Regions from separate parts of the Homo sapiens genome. Here region 2 is linked to region 1. The links are contacts of gene promoters, found by promoter capture Hi-C in human tissues and cell types (Jung and others, 2019). All regions are on one chromosome and are shown on one strand. The core of a region is centred on a gene start or on the middle of the fragment in contact, and the rest is flanking DNA. Distances in the headings are between cores, read along the strand shown.

Region 1 (4,897 bases), core at 1,440-3,939:
GGAAAACTCCCTTTCCCCTGGCCATGTCCCTGCTGTCCTACAGCAGGACTCCAGCCCTCTGCAGGGTAGGGGGCACATGAGGAGGCTGCATCCTGCTCAACGTTGCCCGCCCTTTCCCCATGGGGAGAAGAGGGAGCTGTCTGATGATGGGGCTGGGAGGGGCCCTGAGCTTCCATGGCGTCTCCAGCCTCCCTCCATCCCCTCCCAAGGCAGTCGGCTCACGGGGACAGGTCCTGCGGGAGGGGTACTGAGTCCTGGGAGGCAGCACAAATCCCAGGGGACCTAGGCTGGAATCGGAGTCTTCATCACAGCTTTGCCAGAAATACAGCAAGTAATAGACTCTAGGAGACTGCCAGGTGCTCAGAGCCGGAGACATGCCTGCAGATACCCGGCCCCATGCTGCCCCTGTGGTTACCTGGCCCGTCATGTGTCTCTGAGTGCTTGGTGACCCCAGCTTCTCCTCTTGGGGTTGGGGGAGAGGGGATGGGGCCTTGCCTCTCCCCAGAGACTGGCTGGGGTCAGGGGCCGACACCAGGTGCCCCTCCCACCTTGGTGGTGGCTGGTCCTCCTGTGTCCTGGGAGGGCTGGGGTTTGGGGTGAGGAGGGTGGGGGTACAAGCAGAAACCCCCATAGCTGGTCTTAGCGGCTTCTTCCCACCTCAAGGTTGTGCTCAGAACCCCTGCTGTCTCCCTCCAGTGATAGGAGCACCCGAGACCATGCAGGGGGACGCTGCGGTGCTGGGATGCTGGGGAGAGGTGGCCCGGGGCGGGGCTATCGCTGAGCACAGAGGTGCCAGCCACCCCGTGAGGTGCTGGTCATCTCCCTCGGCTTACACCCTCAGCTCTGTGGTCTTTTGTTTGACTGGGGTGAAATGACAGCCTGAGGTTGTCCCCGCCTCAGGGGTGGGCATGGGGGTGGGGGGCTCAGTGGAGAGGAGGCCCCAGTCCCAGCACCTCAGGAAGCTGAGTCCTGCCCGTGGTCCAGTCTGAATCTCCTGCGGGTGGAGTCAAGCCTGGTTGGAGATATAGGGCTCTTCCTCCTGTCCCTGTGCTCCATCCTAGCACCCAAGGCCCCGGGAAGGCAGACCATGGGTGGGAGGTGAGGTGGTGGTGGAGGGAGCCCCACCTGGGCCAGCATCATCAGGAGGACACCCTGAGTGGGGCAGACGGGGCATCACTGCCATGGCAGGTGGGGAGATGTGGGGAGGGGGACAGATGCTCTCCTACTCAGGATAGCTTGGGGGGGTCACCAACCCTCAGGCCCAGAGGGAGGCAGAGATGAGTTTTGGGAGGTCTTAAGTCTGTTGATGGTGGACCCCCTCCCAGGCACAAGTCCCGTCCACCCATGGACGGAGCTATCTCCGGGATCTACCAGCAAGCTCCAGCCCCAAAGCAACAGGTGGGGTTTCTCCAGCCTGTGGCCCACCAAGGGCCATGGTCCCTCTCCTATCTCACCTCCTGCATGGCTGAGGAGGACACGGGCCTCATGGGTGGGCCCCAGGGAGAGAGCATGGCAGGGAAGCGATGGACATAGAGGGAGAGGGGAGAGTGCAGGAAGGGGAGAGGCATGAAGAGATGGGGGACAGAGAAGGAAACAGGGAGGAGAACAGGGGGACAAGGGGTTAGAGCCACGGAGCTCAGCCAGACCCTGCTGCTGCCCCCTCTCTGCTGTGACCCTGGAGGAGGTCTCCCTGTGGGACCATGTGCCCCACTGGGGGCTCGGGAGGGAGGCAGAGCTCTGTAGGAAGGGTCGCCACAGTTGGGTTACAGGACTGTGGGGAGTAGAGGAGTTTGTTGCATCCTTGGTGAGCAGGAGGAAGAGGAGAGGGAGGAGAAGGAGGGGAGGAGGCGGGGGAGGACGATGGAAGAGAACAGGAGGGAGGAGGAGGAGGGGGAGGAGAAGGAGGGGAGGAGGCGGGGAAGGACGATGGAACAGAAGAGGAGGGAGGCACAGCATTCCCCATCCCTGGGTGGTCCAGGAGTGGCTCTGTGTCCCGCCCAGACAGCCAATACTGAGAAGCCCTGAGGCTGAGCACCCAGGTGTGGCAGGGAGGAGAGGGCCTATCCCCGGCTGCCCCCATGACTCCCCTTGAGAGTCTGCACCTGCAGGGAACACTCTAGATCATGGAGGAAGCAAGGCAGACAGGAGACAGAGCCACCGGGGGTGGGGGGTTGGGGAGCCATCACCCAAGCTATCGTCCTCTTCCAGACTCAGCCCAGGGCTGGCTGCGGACCAGGTGGTGCGGCCCGTCAGAGGGCGGAGGCTGCAGCCTGGAGAGCTCCCTGTTGATAGCATCTGCTGTTGCCCACGCCCCACCCCTGCCACCATCTGGCCAGCAAAAGAGCCCAGAAAATGCCGAGCGCCTGGGCCGGCCCCAGAGACCCACCCTGATCCAGCCACCTGCGCTACTCACCGTTTGGGGCAGAGGACTGGCCGAGCCCTGCCTGCTCTGACCCTGGGCCTTGGATCTATCCTGGCCGCGGCCGAGGGCTCCAGTCCCCAGAGCCTCTGGGCGGCTCCTGTTCAGTGTCCACCAGCTCCTCCGAGTCACATGGCATCCAGCTGGAATGGGGCCGGTCAGGAAGGTGTCTCTCTGAGGACCCCTTCTCTTCCGCTCAGCTCTCGCCCAGGTGTGGACAGCAAGAGAAACCCTGAACCTCCCTGCAGCCTTCCAGGCAGGCCTGGCAGGCAGAGGAAACCACGAGATCTCTGGGTGGAGCCCAGCCAAGCTGTGACTTCACTGGCACTCCTGGCTCAGAGACACCAAGCCCTGTAGGGCCCTTTAGGGACCACTTCTTTCCATCTGTGCCTCGGAGGGGCCGGCTGAGAGCCGGGCTACCGGCGGAACTTGTCCTTGCAGCAAAAATGTGTTTTTCTCTCCGCAGAGCACAGGCTGCCGGCCCCAGCTCTCCAGGCAGTGTGGGACCGCGGGGAGGAGCGGGGATGTGCGTGAGGCCGTCCCTCCTGCCTCGTTCGCAGGCACAGAGTAGATGGCCGGTGTCAAGAAGCTGCCGCGCGGTCCCCGGCCGAGGAGAATCAAACACATACAGCAGCGTCAGGCTCCGGGAGACCTCGTGAACTCAGTGATTTCAAGTCCCGTTTCAGACCGTGCCTTTCCTTCCAGTGCCCTGCCTTAAGGGAGATCGCAATTGACGTGCCAAGAGAAGGAAAACAAGGTCATTTTTTGGCCTCTGTTCCTCCCCGAGTCCAGGCCCTAGCAACTCTTTTCTCATCTTTGTCTTTAGAAAAATCTCCGAGGTAGAGAAGAGTGCAGAAACAGCACGGATTTGCTCCGGAGCGTTTCCCACTCTGCGCAGTCCGCCTGACCTCTCCTCTTGCGGACCAAGTGAGAGCAAGTTTCCCGCACGTGGCCTTTGACCTGTCACTACATCAGCAGGCATCCCCCAGGGCACCGGCATCCTCCATCCCCAAAACGGAGGGGCCGCACACAGGTCGTCTGGCGTCTGTGCAATGCTGGTGTCTGATGAATGTGTCGCGCTGGTGTCTGACGTCCATGCGGGGCTGGTATCTGACAGGCAGCAGTGCCGCTTGCTGAGTTGTGTCTCAGCTTCAAATCCTCCCTTCCTAAACCAGGATCCGAGCTGCCAGGTGCCCGAGGCTCTGTAAACCATGCCTGGGCTCTGCCACCGCTCTGGGAGGCCCTACCAGTGGGTGGTCACTCAAGGATGGCCCAGGGGTGTGGGGGAAGTGCTCCCAATCGCCCCACACGTTCCAAATATCTCACCCTTCTAAGTGCCACACTCCCTCCAGTTGTCCCACAGTTCCAATAGTGCCACTCCTTTCAATTGTCCATCCCACCCTTTCATAAGTTCCATGCCTTCCACTTGTCTTACACCTTAAAGCTGTCCCACCCTTCCAAATGCCCGACCCTTCCAATTGTCCCACTCCTTCCAACTGTCCCACTCTTCCATTTGTCCCACTCTTCCATTTGTCCCACTCCTTCCAATTGTCCCACTCTTCCAATTGTCCCACTCCTTCCAATTGTCCCACTCTTCCATTTGTCCCACTCCTTCCAATTGTCCCACTCTTCCATTTGTCCCACTCCTTCCAATTGTCCCACTCTTCCAATTGTCCCACTCCTTCCAATTGTCCCACTCTTCCATTTGTCCCACTCCTTCCAATTGTCCCACTCTTCCATTTGTCCCACTCCTTCCAGTTGTCCCACCCTCCAATTATCCCACCTTCCAATTGCATTAGCCTTCCAACTGTCCCACCCTTCCAATTTTCCCACTCTTTCCAATTGTCCCAGCCTTCCAATTGCCTCATCCTTTTAATTATCCCACTCTTTTAGTTGTCCCCCTCCTTCCAATTGCCCCATTCTTTCCAATGGTCCCACTTTTTAAATTGCCCTTCCCTTGCAATTGTCCCCCTCTTTCAATTGACCCACCTTTCCAATGGTCTTACCTTCCAATTGATCCACCTTTCCAATGGTCTCACCTTCCAGTTGTCCCACTCCTTCCAGTTGTCCCACTCCTATCAATTGTACTGCCTTCCAATTGCCTCACTCTTCCAATTGTCCCACCCTTCCAATTTCCCCACAGTTTTAATTGTCCCACTCTTTCAATTGTCCCACCCTTCCAATTGTCTCACCGTTCCAATTGTCCAACCCTCCCAATTGTCCCACTCCTTCCAATTGTTCTACCTTTTTAATTGTCCTACCATTCTAGTTGTCCCACCCTTCCAACTGTCCCACTCTTCCAATTGTCCCACCCCTCCTATTGTCCCACTCCTTCCAGTTCCCCTACCCCTCCAATTGTCTGACTCTTTCCAATTAGTCCATCTTCCTTTATGTTTTCGAGCTTCACTTTCACTCCCTGTCAGAGTTGCCCCAGCAACTCTCTCTCTCTCTCTTTTTGAGACAGAATGCCACTCTGTT
Region 2 (5,087 bases), core at 172-2,671, 1.7 Mb after region 1:
GCATCTGGGGTATGTTGTCTCATCCTCACTAATGTCGTCTCTAAGGTGGAGACTCAACTCTACCTGTTCTATTTCTGTACCAGATTGGAAGCTTTTGAGTGGTGTAGCCCATGATACAAGCATGGTTGTGTGTCTACTGTTGCAAGTATTCTAAAATGTGTCCCTTTTCATGAAGTGATATAACATAATGTCCTATGCTGGTGGATCAAACCCTTTGTAAGCCCTGAGATACTAGGTTTGGCTATGACTCTTCAAGAAAATAAAACAAACCTACACCCATCATATGTGTCAATTTCTATCAAGTTCATTTGCTGCCTTTTGTGGGGTAGAATAATCTTCCATTAAGTGGCCATTTTCTACTCAAGAAGTGATGCTACATTGGGCAGTTAACATTGTTTTCTATCATTGCCAGGTTAATATTTAGTAGAAAGAGAAGTTTTATCAGCCTTGTTGAGTGGGAAACTATGCTTTGTGTTTATGCAGTTTTCATCCTGCCACTATAGCTACTTCAATTAGGAGCCAATTATGCCACCACTGAGGTTGCTTATATCAGAATCTAGCTGATATAAATTGTCAGGTCCACTCAGTGTTCTTTATAGCTTAGGTTCTTTTCCATTATGTATAGACTATGATGAACATTGATCTTTTATATAAAGATCTTCAAACTTTGTTCTAACTTCTAGAACCATCCACATGCCACTTCATCCCTCTGCCTCTTTGTCACTAGTATTCCAGTCTTTCTCCTTCCAACAGCCTGGTCAATTAGCCAAGTTACCCACCATTAACAATAAGTTGAATTTTTGTGTATTCTTACATAGAACCACCTCTTTTTTATACAAAGAGGATGAGTGAGTCCATCAGCTGATTTGTCCGTGGGATGTATTTCTCCTAAGTACTATCTTTCAAAGTCACTCCTTAATGGATCAGTAACACATCTACAGTTCATTTTTGGCATACCAACTTTACTCATTTATGAACTAACTTGGCTTTCATCCCCCACCAGCTGGTCATAAGGGATCATCCACGTAGCTACAAGTGTAAGCTTAGGGAAAGTGCACCACATTGCAATAGTAGTGCACTAACATCAGTGGACTTCGCATCACCTCTTTGTGCTTTTTTTTTTTTTTTTTTTTTTTTTTTGAGACGGAGTCTCACTCTGTCGCCCAGTCTGGAGTGCAGTGGCGTGATCTCCGCTCACTGCAAGCTCTGCCCCCCGGGGTTCATGCCATTCTCCTGCCTCAGCCTCCTGAGTAGCTGAGACTACAGGTGCCTGCCACCACACCTGGCTAATTTTTTTGTATTTTTAGTAGAGACGGGGTTTCACAGTGTTTGCCGGGATGGTCTCAATCTCCTGACCTTGTGATCCGCCTGCCTCGGCCTCCCAAAGTGCTGGGATTACAGGTGTGAGCCACCATGCCCGGCCCCCTCTTTGTGCTCTTTCAGTTGTGCTTGATGGTCTTACTTGTGTCTTAGCATGGGCATACGTCTTTCTGTTATGTGAGTAGAATTAGCACTCAAAGTGTGGCATATGCTGCCTCCGGGGTTTCAGGAGGTCACTACATGTGGTACTTTCTTCTTGGTGGTAAAAGATAAAAAATGCTTTAGTTTGTCTATTAACTGAGAGAGGCTGTCGCAATTTTTCCTATACCGCAGGATCCCTAAAAACTTCTCTAATGTTTAAGATTCCTACTTTTTTGTATGGGTGTTTATCTCTATCCTTTCCCACCTAAAGAGCACTGTGTTTTGACAAGAATGCCAATATACTTGCATTTCATGCTCGTCTACCTGATTAATATATTGTCATTGATATAGTGGGTCAATAAAATATTATGCAAAATATCCAAAGAAAATAAGTATTTTCAAATTATAGATTTATTATAGAAGATGGAAGAGAATATATTTGCCACATAAATACTACATACTTGATAATCGAATCCAGGTTAATCTTAATCTTCCCTGGTAAAAACACTGCACCTGACATAAAACTTTAAACTGATGTTTCTACTTGGTTGAGATTGGAGTCCACAGTAGTCCTCCATGACCCTTTTCGTTACACACACAAAAGTAGCCAGTAAGAGAATCCAGTTTACAGAGAATGCTCTATTTATAAATAAATCTTGTGAGTTACCTTTCCTCTGGGTACTATTACAGTTCACTTCAGATGAAAATTTTAACAATAACTTGCTACAGCATGTCAGGGACCATCAACATTTCATCTGCAACCAGTGATGTGGTTCCTATTGTGATGCAGACAGTGATGAATCCAACTCTAGAATTTCTTATTGGCAATCTGTTTTCTAGAATCTTTTCTCACTTACAAGTAAGAACACAGTATCTGGTTTTCTGTTGCTGTGTTAATTTGCTCAGGATAATGGCTTCCAGATGCATCCATGTTGCTCCAGAGGACACGATTTTGTTCTTTTTTTGTGGCTGTGTAGTATTCCCTGGTGTACATGTATCACATTTTCTTTATCCAACCTTCTGTTGGCACCTGGGTTGGTTTCATGTCTTTGCTATTGTTTGACACACTTTTTAGTTGTGTTGTTTGTTTTCTTATTGAGTTTCAAGAATTCTTGTGTCTTTTGCAAATATTTTCTTCCAATTAGCAACTTATAATAAAATGTTAAGTCCCAAGATAATAAGGTGGGTATCAAATGCATCTGCTAGAATAGCCCAATGACATTTAATAAGTCTATTTGCTTCAGATAACTTAACATGGAGAATATGTAATCTCATTTATCTTATGGGAGTTGATCGTCTTCTCCAGACATGGGAACTAGCAATGAGTGGGCTTATCCCTGCTCATTGTTTTAAATTTCTATTCATTTCTTATTCACAGATATATGTATTTTGTATTTGAGCCATGTTGTGTCTTTTATATTATTATTCCATTAAATTGTATTAATTAAAATTATTTTATTATTAATGTAAGGCTTTCCATTATTTTAACCAAAGTTTTTCTTTTTAACTTAGAAATATGCTTTAAGAAATACTTAAAACAGTTATATATATATCCTTATTTTATACATTTTTACTTAAATTGTCTTCACATTTTTATATTGTTTCATAGCCTTAAATAATTATTATTTAATTTAAACCATGATGGAACTGACATATAAAATAGAAATATGTGAATAAAACGCAGGATACTCCTCGGACGGTTCTAGTGAATGCAATATAATGTGGAAGGCATGTAGTTTTGAGACACTGCTTTAAAAATCTAACAGAGTACGACAGGCTATGTCTATTTCAATGTTAATATTTTGCCAAAAATGGATCATACAAATAAGTGGAATGACTGGTAAACCATTTTATAGTTTGTAAAGTGCTTTTCTAAATATTTGATACTTATAGATTACTATCTCCATTTTGTGGATGATTAAGCTAAGATGAAGAACGTTTAAGTGGTTTGACTTAGAATTGGACATAAAGTGTTTTGATTATAGATAACATGTTATTTTAACTATATTTTCCAACCTCTACAAATCCCATGTGTCAAGCTTCTTCAACTTCAAATGTTTACCTTTCAGATGAGTAGTCTCCCTGTAGTTTGTCTCACAATTTGCCTCTAGTTTCTGTTAAGGTACAATGAATACAAAGTAATGTACCAGCCCCAGGCCTAACCCTTTCTGTGTAAGCTTGATTACTCTCAAGGGTCTAGTCACCTGAGGAAAAGAGAAGTAGGTACCTCTAGATAAAGTGGAAGTGAAAGTGGAGAATTCTTGTTTTTATCCTTCAGGAACTTACTGAGCATCTGGTTCTGGTAAGGTTAAGGAGCTATAAATCCTTTTGGAAACCTAAATCTAAGGTTTGTTAAACTGCTTATATCTGAATACATGTCTATGGGGAGGAAGAGTAAGTGGTTTCAGTGTGTGTGCATACATGAAGAGTGAATATATTATGCCCTGACGGTTAAACAAGAAGGTTAAATATCGGGGTGTTTTTCTAATGCCCTAATATCAGTAGAGATTTATTTACTTAATAATATGACAAATAAAAGCAAGCCTTATTGTCAATTAAAAAATATAAATTACTCTTGTCCAATCTAGGACTTGATGTCTGGAAGGAAAATGGCTAAGGAAGTTTTATTGAAGTAGTTATTCATCTCTGCTATTTACTGATTATCTTCATTGTGTTAGAGACTATCAGACAGCCTAACATAACTCTGAGGTAGATACCATTGTTTACCACATTTCACAGAAGAGCAAACAACTGCTTAAGCAGCTTTCCCAGATTCACACAGGGTAAATTGCCATGCTGAGATTTAAACCAAGGTGTTTGTGCGTTAGCTTGAGAACTGATTTTTGCCTTAAAGAATAGCAATTCTAAGTGGTATGGGAAATATTTTACCTGAGGACTGCCTTCCTTGAAACATTCTCTTCTTTTGGCATCTACTATATTCCACCTCTCTGTATATTCTACCTCCATATATTCCACCTCTCTGAATATTCCTTTGCAAGATCCTCTCAACAATCTTACTGCTCCTCAGGGTTCTATGAGTTTTAAATTTTGTATTATGTACATTTTTACTGTATGATTTCATTTACTCTTTGGTTTCAGATACCACCTATCATGTCAGTACTTCTGAATAAACAGCCTTGATGAGCTATCTCTTCTGAAGTTCATCCACATCCAAATGCATGCTCTGTGTAAGAATGACTTTACCGCTTAAAATATGAGTGAAAAGAATGGACATCAATATCCCTTAGTTGTTGCCAGAGAAAAAAAGGGAGAAAGTGCTAAGAAATGATTCTACATATTTTATATTTCTTCCATTCACATTTATTCTTTACATATTTGCTGAGAGCCTTTTATATTCCACGTGTCATGTTGATGACAGATACATGGGGATAAATAAAACCTTTTTATACCTTTTAACATGGAGTAGTCAATGTGCATGGTAGTAATGGAGTTTGGTAGGGTAGGGTTACATGAAAGTAGTACGTTATAAAACACTGCAGAATCTTCCACAATAAAAAATGCACTAGAGATGCATTCCCTGAAAGACCTGAGTCAATATCCCTCAGCAAAAGACGAAAATAAAAAGGAATAAGAGTTAAGTGCATTCAGAGGTGAGAACTTATTTT

Evidence for each region. The method cuts DNA at HindIII sites, captures the fragments that hold promoters and counts their contacts. A contact is called where the count stands out against the background at its distance.
Region 2: a fragment that was not itself captured here is called in contact with the fragment with the promoter of MRGPRE in region 1 in 1 of the 25 tissues and cell types used here (sigmoid colon).

What each region holds. Positions count from the first base shown.
Region 1 is chr11:3,229,728-3,234,624 of GRCh38, forward strand. MRGPRE (MAS related GPR family member E) reads right to left here and starts at 2,690. Exons shown (of 2, transcript NM_001039165.4): 1 at 2,414-2,690. The HindIII fragment of the contact is 8,659 bases long and covers 1-4,897 here.
Region 2 is chr11:4,900,037-4,905,123 of GRCh38, forward strand. The region is part of intron 2 of MMP26 (matrix metallopeptidase 26); the gene reads left to right. OR51A7 (olfactory receptor family 51 subfamily A member 7) reads left to right here and starts at 3,747. Exons shown (of 2, transcript NM_001004749.2): 1 at 3,747-3,808. The HindIII fragment of the contact is 6,232 bases long and covers 1-4,537 here.